Linked DNA regions of Homo sapiens: all the other regions are linked to region 1. Evidence: promoter capture Hi-C in human tissues and cell types (Jung and others, 2019). All regions are on one chromosome and are shown on one strand. The core of a region is centred on a gene start or on the middle of the fragment in contact, and the rest is flanking DNA. Distances in the headings are between cores, read along the strand shown. Region 1 holds the start of SOX18 (SRY-box transcription factor 18). Region 2 overlaps ZBTB46 (zinc finger and BTB domain containing 46). Region 3 holds the start of ARFRP1 (ARF related protein 1).

Region 1 (4,154 bases), core at 1,066-3,565:
CCCCTCCCTCAGCACAGCTGGCCACACCCACACCATCCCCTCTACAGCCCTGGCAAGTCCCCCCAGCCCTGCGGCTCCAGATCACGCCACCCTGGCTGTGGTCCCTACCCCCACTTTGTCCCATCTGGACACTGGGCCAGGGCTGCCAGCCTCCTCCCTGCCACGCAGAGGGAGAGGAGCACCTCAGGAGGCTCCCCGCCCAGCCCCGACTCACAGGACATGACAGCCGGACACCTGAGTCCACAGCCCAGCCAAGAGGGTGGGTCACTGGCTGGCGCCAGGCAAGGCGGCTGCTGGTGGGTGTTGTGGGGGACGTGGAGGCGATGAGGTCATGCCGGACACTGCCTGCCACTATGTTTAGAGCAGCTCCAGTGACTCTGGGCTCTCGGGGGTGGCAGAGGACCAAGCAGGGCCCCCAGGGAACTGCAAATCCTTCCCCACGTGTGAGGGCTACTGCAGAGGACCCCGAGGACCTCTTTCCCAGGCCGCAGTGACCAGCCACTGCCCAGGCTGAGCCAGGCCCTGGTGACCCCTGACTGCAACCCTAAGGTTGTGAGTAGAGAGAGCTTCCGCCAAGTGGTAGCCCTTTGGGGTCTTCGCACGGCTCCCCACCCCCCCTGCACCCTCCTGCCAGCTGCCCAGGAGGCCCACCCACACTGAGACTCGGCCAAGGGTCCAGCCACCCATACTGAGATTAAAGGAGGACTAGCAGCATCCGGCAGAGGCCTGTGAGCCCCTCCATCCCTGTGGCCACAACCCTGCCTGCCTCCCCAGAAAAGCCAGGGGCCGCACCTCCTGGTGCCCCACGGGCCCCCCATTAGCCAGCACTGGCTCAGTGTCTGTGAACGAGGTGCTAGGCCCGTGGGGCAAACTGGAGGGACGGGAGATCTGGAGACCAGACTGGGAGACCCAGCCCCGTATGCTGGGACGATGGGCGTCGAGACAGACTGTGATGTGGGGCTTTGGGGAGGGCTGGACACCGACCGCGACAGCCCTCGGTGGGAGTGCCCCTGTGGGGGTGCTGGCCTCAGGGCAGGAGTGCCCCTGGGGACAGTTCAGGAACAGCCTCTAAGGGGCACTGCAAGGCCCACGTGGGGCCCACCCCATTCATAACACAGGCTGGATGTGGCCTAGCGAGGCTGGCAGGGACAGAGAACCAAGAGCTTCTGGCCACACAGGCTCAGGGTCACAAGACCTGTGGCCTCTACCCATGGGGCTCCCGGCATAGTGTGGCGGGGGGAGCTGGGGAGCCTCCAGGCTATGAGGAGATGTGCCGCGAGGTGGCGAGATTCTGACCCTGCCTGGAGGGCTGCTGGGGACACCCAACCCTTCTCCAGTAGAACCATGCGTGGCAGTGGGAGGGGAGGACCTCCAGAGGGAGACCCTCAGCTCTGGAGCCCAGATCCCCTCCTGATGGAGTAGGAAGGGGACAGTGAAAATTCAGGAAGCTGGACGCTCCTCCGGAACCCGCCCCCGCCCAGGTCAGAGGGTCCAGGGAGGGGCCAGTGGGAAGGACCCAGGTAGGCCCTGCCTCTTGCTGCAGCGGTGGCCTGGGCTGGGCAGGGGAGCCAGCAAGCCACTGAGGGTCCCAGCCCCTTCCCCAAGGGCCCTTGGGGGGCAGGGAGGACGCCACAGCCTCTGCGTCCCTGCTCCCCCTTCTCTTTGTGGGCTCCGTCCAGGGCCTCTGCTCTCTCCCTCCCTGTGTCAGCTTTGCCTTGTGCCAGAGTTGGTTTGGGAGTGAGGACAGAAGACCATCTTGTCCCATAAAGGCACTCAAAGTCCCTGGTGCTGACGGTTACACATGGGTGTAGAGTTTCCAGCATGGGCGCCCCTGGGGACTCAGAGCGCCTCCCCAAAGACGGGGCCTTTTCTGAAGGCGCTGCACTCCAGGAAGGACTTACCGGCTGTTGGGAAGGCAGCCTCCCCAGAACTTGGTGTGAAAAAGGGCCCTCTCCTCCCCATGGAGCCTCCCAGCGGGGGGCGGGGAACGGCAACCAGCGGGACACTGCCGCCCTCCCCCAGTTACTGCCCGGGGGTCCGACTCCGTGGGTGGGTGGCAGCTCGCCTCCGAAAGTCTGGCAGCACCGGCCCTCATCAGCAGCCCTTTCTTTCCCACCCGGGGGGTCTCTCCTTCTGAGAGGTCGCGGGGGAGGTGGGGGGGCTGTGCGCGGGGGAGGCCTCAGCGGAATCCCGCCCGGCCTGAGAAGAAAGGGAGCCCCCGGGGAGGAGGCGGCCCCGACCCGCCCCCGCCCGCCCGCCCCGCCGCCGATTGGCCCTGAGCCGCTATATCTGGGCGCCCGCCCGGCCCGAGGCCACCGCCGTCCCCACCGCCATCCGCCCTCCCGGCCTGGCCTGCCCTTGCGCCCGGCTCCCCAGTGCCCGCCGCCCGCCCGCCGCGCTCCCGCGCTCCGTTCCGCCCAGGCCGCGCCCAGCTGGAATGCAGAGATCGCCGCCCGGCTACGGCGCACAGGACGACCCGCCCGCCCGCCGCGACTGTGCATGGGCCCCGGGACACGGGGCCGCCGCTGACACGCGCGGCCTCGCCGCCGGCCCCGCCGCCCTCGCCGCGCCCGCCGCGCCCGCCTCGCCGCCCAGCCCGCAGCGCAGTCCCCCGCGCAGCCCCGAGCCGGGGCGCTATGGCCTCAGCCCGGCCGGCCGCGGGGAACGCCAGGCGGCAGACGAGTCGCGCATCCGGCGGCCCATGAACGCCTTCATGGTGTGGGCAAAGGACGAGCGCAAGCGGCTGGCTCAGCAGAACCCGGACCTGCACAACGCGGTGCTCAGCAAGATGCTGGGTGAGCGGCGGGAGGGCGGCAGAGAAGGGGGAGAGGGCGGGGGGGGCTCGGGCCGGGGTGGGGCGGGGGGGGCAGGGGTCCCGGGCCGCGGGGTGCGGGGGCTGCGCCAAACCCTCGCGGGGCGTCCCGGGCGCACGGAGGGCTCGGCGCCCACCCGCCCGACGGCGTTCCACTCACTGGCGCCCACGGCCCGCAGGCAAAGCGTGGAAGGAGCTGAACGCGGCGGAGAAGCGGCCCTTCGTGGAGGAAGCCGAACGGCTGCGCGTGCAGCACTTGCGCGACCACCCCAACTACAAGTACCGGCCGCGCCGCAAGAAGCAGGCGCGCAAGGCCCGGCGGCTGGAGCCCGGCCTCCTGCTCCCGGGATTAGCGCCCCCGCAGCCACCGCCCGAGCCTTTCCCCGCGGCGTCTGGCTCGGCTCGCGCCTTCCGCGAGCTGCCCCCGCTGGGCGCCGAGTTCGACGGCCTGGGGCTGCCCACGCCCGAGCGCTCGCCTCTGGACGGCCTGGAGCCCGGCGAGGCTGCCTTCTTCCCACCGCCCGCGGCGCCCGAGGACTGCGCGCTGCGGCCCTTCCGCGCGCCCTACGCGCCCACCGAGTTGTCGCGGGACCCCGGCGGTTGCTACGGGGCTCCCCTGGCGGAGGCGCTCAGGACCGCGCCCCCCGCGGCGCCGCTCGCTGGCCTGTACTACGGCACCCTGGGCACGCCCGGCCCGTACCCCGGCCCGCTGTCGCCGCCGCCCGAGGCCCCGCCGCTGGAGAGCGCCGAGCCGCTGGGGCCCGCCGCCGATCTGTGGGCCGACGTGGACCTCACCGAGTTCGACCAGTACCTCAACTGCAGCCGGACTCGGCCCGACGCCCCCGGGCTCCCGTACCACGTGGCACTGGCCAAACTGGGCCCGCGCGCCATGTCCTGCCCAGAGGAGAGCAGCCTGATCTCCGCGCTGTCGGACGCCAGCAGCGCGGTCTATTACAGCGCGTGCATCTCCGGCTAGGCCGCCGGCGCCGCCCGGGTCCCTGCAGCGCTTCCTCCCGCAGCCCCCGCGACCGATCCGACCGCGTCGCTGCCGCTCTGCTCTCTCATACGCGTGTATGTTTGGTTCCATGTCACAGCCCCCTAGGAGCCAGTGATGCTCGGCCTTGCGCCCGTTCCACCTCCCAGGCCACCCTTCCTGGGCTTCTGGGCCACCTGCCCTCGGGGGGCCCCTGCGAGGGTGCCTGGAGTTCCCACGTGTCCCGGGGCTTTTCCAGGAAGCCCGAGCCCAGGACCTGTTGGCAGAGTTGCCAGGGTTACATTTTTGAAGCACCTGCTCCTTTTCTTGCAGTGTATTTTCTACAACCAGATTGTATTAATATTTTTT
Region 2 (3,968 bases), core at 352-2,851, 270 kb after region 1:
TGACTCAAGTCGTCACCTTTTGTTGTTTTTGTTGTTGTTGTTAAATAGAAGCTTTACTGAGAGATGATTCACACCCCACTCACCCATTTAAAGTCTGCAGTTCAGAGGTTTTTGGTATGGTATATTCACAGCATCCTGTAGCCATCAGCACAGTCCCCTTAGAACATTTTCCTCGGCTCAGAGGGAAACCCTGCACCACTTAGCCCTCATCCGAGACCCCTCCCCAGCCCCTTTTTGCAGCCACAAACCTACTTTCTGTCTTGATTTGCCTGTTCTGGATATTTAATGGAAATGAAATGGCATGTGGCCTTCTGTGTCTGGCTTTGTTCACTCAGCAGTTTTCAAGGCTCCTCTGCGTGGTTCTGTGTCTGGCTTCGTCCGCTGAGCATGTTTTCACGGCTCCTCTGTGTGGTGGCCTGTGTCTGTTCTTCATGCCTTTTCATGGCCACATAATATTCCATTGTGGGGATGGACCTGTTATGTTTATCCATTCGTCCATCGATGGACTTGTTGGCTGTTCCACCTTTTGGCTGTTATGGATAACGTGCTACGCGCGTCCTGGACGAGGTTTTCTGTGAGCTTTTGTGTCTTCATTTCTCGTGGGTATCTGCATGCGTACATGTGGAACTGCTGGGCCCCGTGGTGATTCCTGTACCTGATGTTGTGAGGACCTGCCGACCTGCTCCGCAGGAGGGCACCATGTTACACTCTTACCAGCAAGGTTCCAGGGTTCTGATTTCTTCCCATCCTTGCCAATATTATCTGATCTTTTTTGTTGTTGTTTTTGAGATAGGGTCTCACTCTGTCACCCAGACTGGAGTACAGTGGCTCGATCACAGCTCACCACAGCCTCAACCTCTCAGGCTCAAGTGATCCTCCCGCCGCAGCCTCCTGAGTAGCTAGGACCACAGGCACAACCCACCACACTCAGCTAATTTTGTTTTATTTTAACTTTTTGTCCTGCTGTGTTGCCCAGGCTGGTCTTGAACTCCTGTTCTCAATAGATCTTCCGGTCTTAGCCTCCCAAAATGTTGGGACTGGAAGCGTGAGCCACGGTGCCTGGCCTTTTTATATCCAGCCATCCCAGTGGGTGTGTGCTGGAACCGTGGCGTGTGCTGGAACCGTGGCGTGTGGTGGAACCGTGGCGTGTGCTGGAACCGTGGCGTGTGGTGGAACCGTGGCGTGTGCTGGAACCGTGGCGTGTGGTGGAACCGTGGCGTGTGGTGGAACCGTGGCGTGTGCTGGAACCGTATTGTGTGGTGGAATCGTGTTGTGTTTTGCGTTTCCTTAGTGATGGGTGATGCTGAGCATCTCTTCCTGTGCGTCTTGGCCATTTATACATCTTCTTTGGACAAATGTCTAGTAAGATTTTTTGCCCATTTTTATATTGAGTTACAGTATTTGCCTTTTTATTATCAGATATATAGGTTGCAATTTTTTTTTTTTTTTGAGACAGAGCGTTGTTCTGTCGCCCAGGCTAGAGTGCAGTGGTGTGATCTCGGCTCATTGCAACCTCCACCTCCTGGGTTCAAGCGATTCTCCTGCCGCAGCCTACTGAGTAGCTGGGATTACAGGCACGTGCCACCACGCCCGGCTAATTTTTGTATTTTTAGTAGAGATGGGGTTTCACCATGTTGGCCAGGCTGGCCTTGAACTCCTGACCTCAGATGATCCGCCCGCCTCGGCCTCCCAGAGTGCTGGGATCACAGGCTTGAGCCACCGCACCCGGCGTCACTTTCTTGGTAGTATCCTTTGAAGCACAGACATTTAATTTTGATGAGTCCAATTTATTTTGTTGCTTGTGCTTGGTTTTGTATCTAAGAACCTATTGCCAAATCTGAGATCATGCGGATTTTCTTCTAAGAATTTTATAGATTTAGCTCTAACGTCATTGATCCATTTTGAGCCTCTCCTCGTCTTTGCGAGATGGAAATACTGCCGCCCCAGGAGCCTCTGACTCTCAGGCCCTCGGCCCTGGAGCAGAGCAGGTACCAGGTCTGCAGCGCCTCGTCCAGGGAGGGCAACCCCGTTGTTCTGAGTTGAGCCGTCCTCCAAAGCCTTGGCTGAGACTCCACCGCAGCCATGGGACCTGGGTGGGCAGGAAAGGCCGGGCTGGGCCGAGGCTGCTGCATTGCTGGGGCAGGTGCCCGGCTCCCAGGGTGGGCTGGACTTGATGCTGCTCTGTAGCTCAGGCAGAAGCTGGTCGCTGTCCTTCTAAATGTGTCGCCTGTCCCACTTGGAGAGTCTGGGAACGACCCGTGTCTTCTGACGTGTGTCCCTCTGTCCCCAGATGCGGACCTGTCCGTCACCGAAGCCAGCAGCTCCGACAGCCGAGGAGAGAGGGCCGAGCTCTATGCACAGGTGGAGGAGGGTCTCCTGGGAGGAGAAGCCAGCTATCTGGGCCCTCCCCTCACCCCAGAGAAGGACGACGCCCTGCATCAGGCCACCGCGGTGGCCAACCTGCGCGCGGCGCTCATGAGTAAGAACAGCCTGCTGTCGCTGAAGGCCGACGTGCTGGGGGATGACGGCTCCCTGCTGTTCGAGTACCTGCCCAGAGGGGCCCACTCGCTGTCCCGTAAGTGCAGGCCCTGGGGGCCGCTTGGCTTTGGTGTGGTTTTGAAGGCTGAGGGTTGCAGGTCCCGGGCCAAGATGAGATGAGGCTGAGGGTCTGTCCCTGCTGCTCGGCCGCCTGCTGACCTCCCTGTTGCGGGAGGTGAGGATGCGGCGTCACAGCCTGGACTGGCCTCTCAGGTGCACGGGGGGCTGGCTTTAGAGTGAGGAGGGAATGGACGCGGTTGTGAGCGCGGCGGGCAGGGGAGCAGCCGAGTGCTTGCTGGAATGTTTCTCACAGGAGTCGTTGGCTGAATGCGAGCTCGTCCGGGTCGCGCAGGGGCCGGGGGTCTTTGTGCTCCAGAGACGGGCTCGGGCGCCCCCTGCCGGCCCCTCTGTCGCCTTCGTGCTGAGGCTCGTTTCGCGCAAGGGAGATGGGGGCGGCCGCTGCGAGCCGATTGCACTTGGGGGCCTCGCCTTGCGTTGCCTTCGCTGGATGATGCTGGTGGCGTGTGACTTTTAAAGATGCGTCGGAGGTTGTCTTTAAAACGTAAATGTCCCCAGCTGAATCCAAACGACGACGCGCCTGCCGAGATGTGGCCAAAAGTTCAGCCACTGCTGCGTGTCGGGCTCACCCCAGACTGACTGACTTCCTGACAAGACGGGGGCATTCAGCTTTCGGAGTTTAAAAAAACAAAGGGGCCGGGCGCGGTGGCTCACGCCTGCAATCCCAGCACTTTGGGAGGCTGAGGCGGGCAGACCACGAGGTCAGGAGATCGAGACCATCTTGGCCAACACGGTGAAACCCCGTCTCTACTAAAAATACAAAAAATTAGCCGGGCGTGGTGGCGGGCGCCTGTAGTCCCAGCTACTCGGGAGACTGAGGCAGGAGAATGGCGTGAACCCGGCAGGCAGAGCTTGCAGTGAGCCGAGATCGCGCCACTGCACTCCAGCCGGGGCGACAGAGGGAGACTCTGTCTCAAAAAAAAAAACAAAAAAAAAAACAAAAAAAACCCACCGCAGCCAGCCCCCAGCCAGCTGCCTTCTGGTCTCGCGCTCATGTGGGCCCCCGGGCAAGGCCTGGTGCTGGCACCTAGCACATAGCTGGCACTCAGCATGCGGCTGAGAGTGAGTGAGGCGCCTCCCGTTTCTCTCCAGGGGAGGAGGGAGCGAGTCCGGCATGAGATGCCCCCACCTCCGCGGCTGGGGTCCAGGCGTGCTGAGTGGTGTGGACACATTGTTTGCTGAGTATTGAGGGAAGTGAAGGAAGGAAACGTGCCAGCTGTCCTTGATGCTGGGATTTGGGAAGTATATCTGTTTCTCTGTTTCTTTACGCTGCTCTAAAAAACAATATTTTTACAACTTTGTTTTCATAAGCACTAAAATATTCTTTCGAATTTTCGCGTTGGTGTGAGCAC
Region 3 (4,202 bases), core at 314-2,813, 340 kb after region 1:
CAGCCTCCTGAGTAGCCAGGACCACAGGTGCGCGCCACCACGACCGGTTCATTTTTGTGTTTTTAAGGAGATGGGGTTTCACCATGTTGACCAGCGTGGTCTTGAACTCCTGACCTCAGGTGATCTGCCCGCCTCGGCTTCCTAAAGTGCTGGGATTACAGGCGTGAGCCACCGCGCCTGGCCTCCTTCCATGCTTCTTGATTCACCCCAGAAGGAAGACGTAGACGCCTGAACACAGACACAGCTGTCAAAGCACGCCTGCCCCAGGAAGCTGAGACAAAACTGCAAAGCAAAGGGAGGGCCGATCCTGACCCGACCCTGTGTGCGTGCCCCTTACGCCCCTAAGGTTGGCATCTGACAACAAAGGGCTTTACCTGCAGTTCTCCTTAAAGCGGCACTTTCCCTCCAGGAAGAACGGGCACGGCTTCAGAGACTTGTGAGTGGGGTACAGGTAAAGCACACGGACACCCGCCGAGCCATCCTCCGCCTCTTCCGTTCCCACCACCATGGCGTTGTGATACTCCAGAGTGCCCCAGGAGCTGTAGTAGGGCGCGCTCACCTTTGTCCCACTCAGCTCTTCCTCGTCCTCTCCCTCTTCCTCCTCCTGCCCACCTGCCGCAGATTCTGGCCCCGCCTCTGCTTTAGGAACGGTCTCTGATCCGGACCCACGGGCCGCTGCTGGTGCCTCCACCGCCTCAGTGATGGCCTCCCGGAAAGCCTGGTACTCAGCATCTTCCTGGCGGCCCGGGCGCTCTTCGTCCAGCGCGGCCAACAAGCTGCTCTTCCTGACAGACACCAGGCTGGCCTCGGTGAGCTCGATGAGCTCCTTCAGGTCCCCCTGCAGCTGGCGCAGGTCAGCCTGCTCAGACGAATCCAGGCCGGCGCCCAAGGCCAGCTCCACCTGCTGCAGCTGCGCACGGTAGGTCTGCAAGGCCGACTCCAGGCTCTCCTCGTCCATGCTGAGAGAGGGAGGCGCTGGACCAGGGCTGCAAGAAGAGAAGCCAGCTGAGCCCCGCGTCTCGGGACCGACCCCACAGCCTGAGGGCGGGCACGGGCACGGGCACGTCCCCTTTCCCTCGGGGAGACACCGGCTCAGAGGCACAGCTCCCAGCGCAGAGGTCGCAGCCCGGGTACCCCCGCTCAGGCTCCGCGCTTCCCTTCCGAGCCGCCGTGGGCTCGCCGCTAGCCGGGTCCCGCGTCACTCCGGAGCCCCTTCCCCGCGGGGCGCCCCGCCGCCTCACCCTCCGCCGAGCCCACCCGCCGCGCCCGCCGCCTTCCAGGCCGGCCGCGCCCCCCCGCCCGGCGTCTCTTCTGTCTGGCCAGGGCCGCGTCCCCGCAAACCGCGGCCACCTGGTCCCCGGCCGGGCACCTCCTCCGCGCGGTTTCCCAGCCGCAGCCACAGAGAGCCCGCCGGCCTCACCGGCTAGAGCGGCCCGGCGCCCCCTTTTCGCCCCAGCAGCCGATCGGCACTTCCTCCCGAGCGCCGCCGCTTCCGGAAGTGCTTGGCGCGCGGGGGCAGCCGGGAAGCGGAGCGCGGAGGCCGCTGGGACGCGGTTCAGCTCATTCCCTGAGGCCGGCCCGCGTCCCGTCAGGCGCCGCGCGGGGTTAGCGCGGGGTCAGCGGAGGTCAGCGGGGGTCAGCAGCAGCGGCTCCGAGGGCGCGGCGGACGCAGGTAGGCCGCAGGCTGTGCGGTGAGGCGCGAGGCCCGAGGGGCGGCCCAGGACTCGAGGTGGGACGCGGGTGTGACAGGAGCCAGCTTTGGCTGCTTGTCGGGGAGCCTCAGACCTGGCGGCGGCGGCTTGGGGCGGACGTAGCCGGGGGCCGCGACCCAGGTTCTTCCTTCGCAGTCGTTCCCTGCCAGCCGCGCGCCGCCTCCAGGTGCACTCCAGGAGCAGCCGCGCCGCTGCTCACCCGCCCTGTAGTCCGCTCCCCCCAGGGCCGTCCCCGTTTTAAGAAATGGGGTGATGGGGCGTCCCTACCCGGCGCCTGCAGGGGCTCCTGGGGAGCGCGCCGGTGGCTCGCTGCTCCCGGGTGGGGCGCGGGGCTGGCGCTCGAGGGTGCCGTGGCCCAGGCGGGGCTGCAGCGAGTGTGTTCCCCGTTCCGCGCGCGTGAAGCGTGGGAGCGAAGCCTCGGGGGAGGGCGGGAGCGCGGCTGAGCTCACTGTGAACACCCGGCTGGGTAGTCCCGCGAGCAGGGGAGGGGCCGGAACCGATGTGTATGCGGAGAGGTCGCAGTCATTGCTGTGAGCAGGACACAGTGGCGGCTGACCTGGGAGAAGTTACAGAGGGACGGGGTGGGAGAGGGACGAGGAGTCGGGAATGGCCCCCAGGCTCTCGTCCTGAGCGGTCGGCTGGACGTGGGGCGCCACTGACCACCGTGGAGAAGCCCGGGGGAGGGGAGGTGCTTTCTGGCTGCACACTGACCTATGTTGGGGTGCCCAGGGCAGGATGTACACGCTGCTGTCGGGCTTGTACAAGTACATGTTTCAGAAGGACGAGTACTGCATCCTGATCCTGGGCCTGGACAATGCTGGGAAGACGGTGAGTGCCCACGCCCTTGCGCGCACCTTTCCCACGGCCTGGCGGCGCCCCCTTCGGTTTTGTGCTGTCAGCTGCACGTTCACTACCCAGACGGAAGCCAAATTTCACCTGAGACGGCAGGATAGTCACCACCAGCCTCCTGAAGAGCAGAGTGTTGCTCTGTTTCTGTTTCTGTCTTTTAAAGAACAGACCTGAGTAAGGATATTTGGAAGCCAGTATAGCCCCTCCTTGATGTGTTTCGCCTCTGCCTCTCTCCTCAGACCTTCCTGGAGCAGTCGAAAACCCGATTTAACAAGAACTACAAGGGGATGAGTCTATCCAAAATCACCACCACCGTGGGCCTAAACAGTAAGGGTCTCAATAGCAGGCTGTGGGTTTGGGGCCTTGAGGATGCCGTGATATTCACAGTCCAGCTGGCCCGTGGCCACAGCCCTGTCGGGCCCCTCTCAAGTCTCATTTGAGTGGCACCAGCATGGTTTGCCCCATCCCCTGGGAGAGCTGGGACTGGGTGTGTCGAGGACCAAGGTCATGAGCCTTGCCTGTTTCCTCCTCTCCCCAGTCGGCACTGTGGATGTGGGAAAGGCTCGGCTCATGTTCTGGGACTTAGGAGGGCAGGAAGAGCTGCAGTCTTTGTGGGACAAGGTAAGACTCCCTGGCCAGGACCACCCCCACCCCAGCCCTCCAGTGCCACTTCTTTCCAGAGTGCCCTTTGGGCCCTTCCTCAGCAGTTTTCCTTACCCACTCTGTCCCTCGGGTTTTCTCTCTGGTCCTGTCCCAGGTTCCCGAGTGGCTCCCTGTTTTGTCCCAGCTGAACCCTTAGCTGAAGTTGCCCCAAAAGTGGTGGTAGGGGAGTTTCCCACTTGGGAGTTCCCTGCGATGGGGCCAGTGGAGAATTCCAGGGAAAGAATCACTAAATGCCAAGGCGATCAGATCAGAGCATGTATTAGGGGAACCTGTTGACAGAGTGCGGCATCCTCAGGTGACCAGTGAGAGAAGGGCGTGTTCACTGGTCATGCCTGAAGCCGGGGGGGATCTGGGTTCAGGGCTGGGGCTAGTTTCTTTCAATGTTTTGAAACCTGAACATTATGTTAACAACCTAAACATCTTACAAGTGTCTGGGAATGTTCAAACCCTGGCTTGGGTTTGAGCCTAAGGGCAACCTCGCTGGCCAAGTCAGAGAGGTCAGGGCAGTCTGTTTCTTTCTCAGTCAGGACAAGACAAAGTGTGGGGACCTGGGGACCCTGCACTCCTCCAAAGTGAGTGCCTCCTTTCGGCTCAGAGACCTTGCTGCTGACCACCACAGGACACAGAAATGGCAAAGACCAGATGTGGGGACGGCAGGATGGCTGCCTCTCCCCTGATGAGGTTCCTTCAGTTCTAGCTTAACATTTGTTCTTCCATGATCACCAGAAGACTCCTCAGGGTCTCACAGCGGCAGTCTCCTATTTTGACACAGGTTTTGGGCATTTCTGAGATCCCAGTGTGGTGCCCCTTCCCCACACCCCCAAGGCTGCAGTTTATCTCCTTCTCAGCCTGGGCCAGGCACTGAGTCCAGCACTGAGCAGGGCAGAGCCTGTGGCTTCCTCGGGCTCCCTGCCCTAGGCTGGCACAGTGGGTGTGGGGTGTCCCCAGTGCCTTGGCTGCCCTGATGCCATCTCTAGA

What was found. Contacts are between HindIII fragments. The study calls those that stand out against the background at their distance.
Region 2: a contact is called between a fragment that was not itself captured here and the fragment with the promoter of SOX18 in region 1, in 1 of the 25 tissues and cell types used here (lymphoblastoid cells).
Region 3: a contact is called between the fragment with the promoter of ARFRP1 here and the fragment with the promoter of SOX18 in region 1, in 1 of the 25 tissues and cell types used here (lymphoblastoid cells).

Annotation. Positions count from the first base shown.
Region 1 is chr20:64,047,800-64,051,953 of GRCh38, reverse strand. It overlaps SOX18 (SRY-box transcription factor 18), which reads left to right and starts at 2,315. Exons shown (of 2, transcript NM_018419.3): 1 at 2,315-2,795; 2 at 2,992-4,154. The coding sequence starts at 2,438. The coding sequence ends at 3,788. RefSeq lists promoters at 2,175-2,435, 1,538-2,435, 1,330-2,438, an enhancer at 1,763-2,444 and a silencer at 2,576-2,625. The HindIII fragment of the contact is 20,169 bases long and covers 1-4,154 here.
Region 2 is chr20:63,774,285-63,778,252 of GRCh38, reverse strand. ZBTB46 (zinc finger and BTB domain containing 46) reads left to right here. Exons shown (of 5, transcript NM_001369741.1): 3 at 2,291-2,575. Among named protein-coding and RNA genes, the nearest start is that of ZBTB46-AS1, 32 kb to the left of the region's middle. RefSeq lists an enhancer at 1-333. The HindIII fragment of the contact is 8,553 bases long and covers 1-3,968 here.
Region 3 is chr20:63,705,337-63,709,538 of GRCh38, reverse strand. It overlaps ARFRP1 (ARF related protein 1), which reads left to right and starts at 1,563. Exons shown (of 8, transcript NM_001267547.3): 1 at 1,563-1,672; 2 at 2,442-2,540; 3 at 2,801-2,888; 4 at 3,100-3,182. The coding sequence starts at 2,448. ZGPAT (zinc finger CCCH-type and G-patch domain containing) reads right to left here and starts at 1,500. Exons shown (of 7, transcript NM_181485.3): 1 at 1,421-1,500; 2 at 375-986. The coding sequence starts at 958. RefSeq lists silencers at 1,228-1,387, 1,428-1,487, 1,908-2,147, 2,238-2,287 and enhancers at 615-1,575, 2,438-2,497. The HindIII fragment of the contact is 11,218 bases long and covers 1-2,112 here.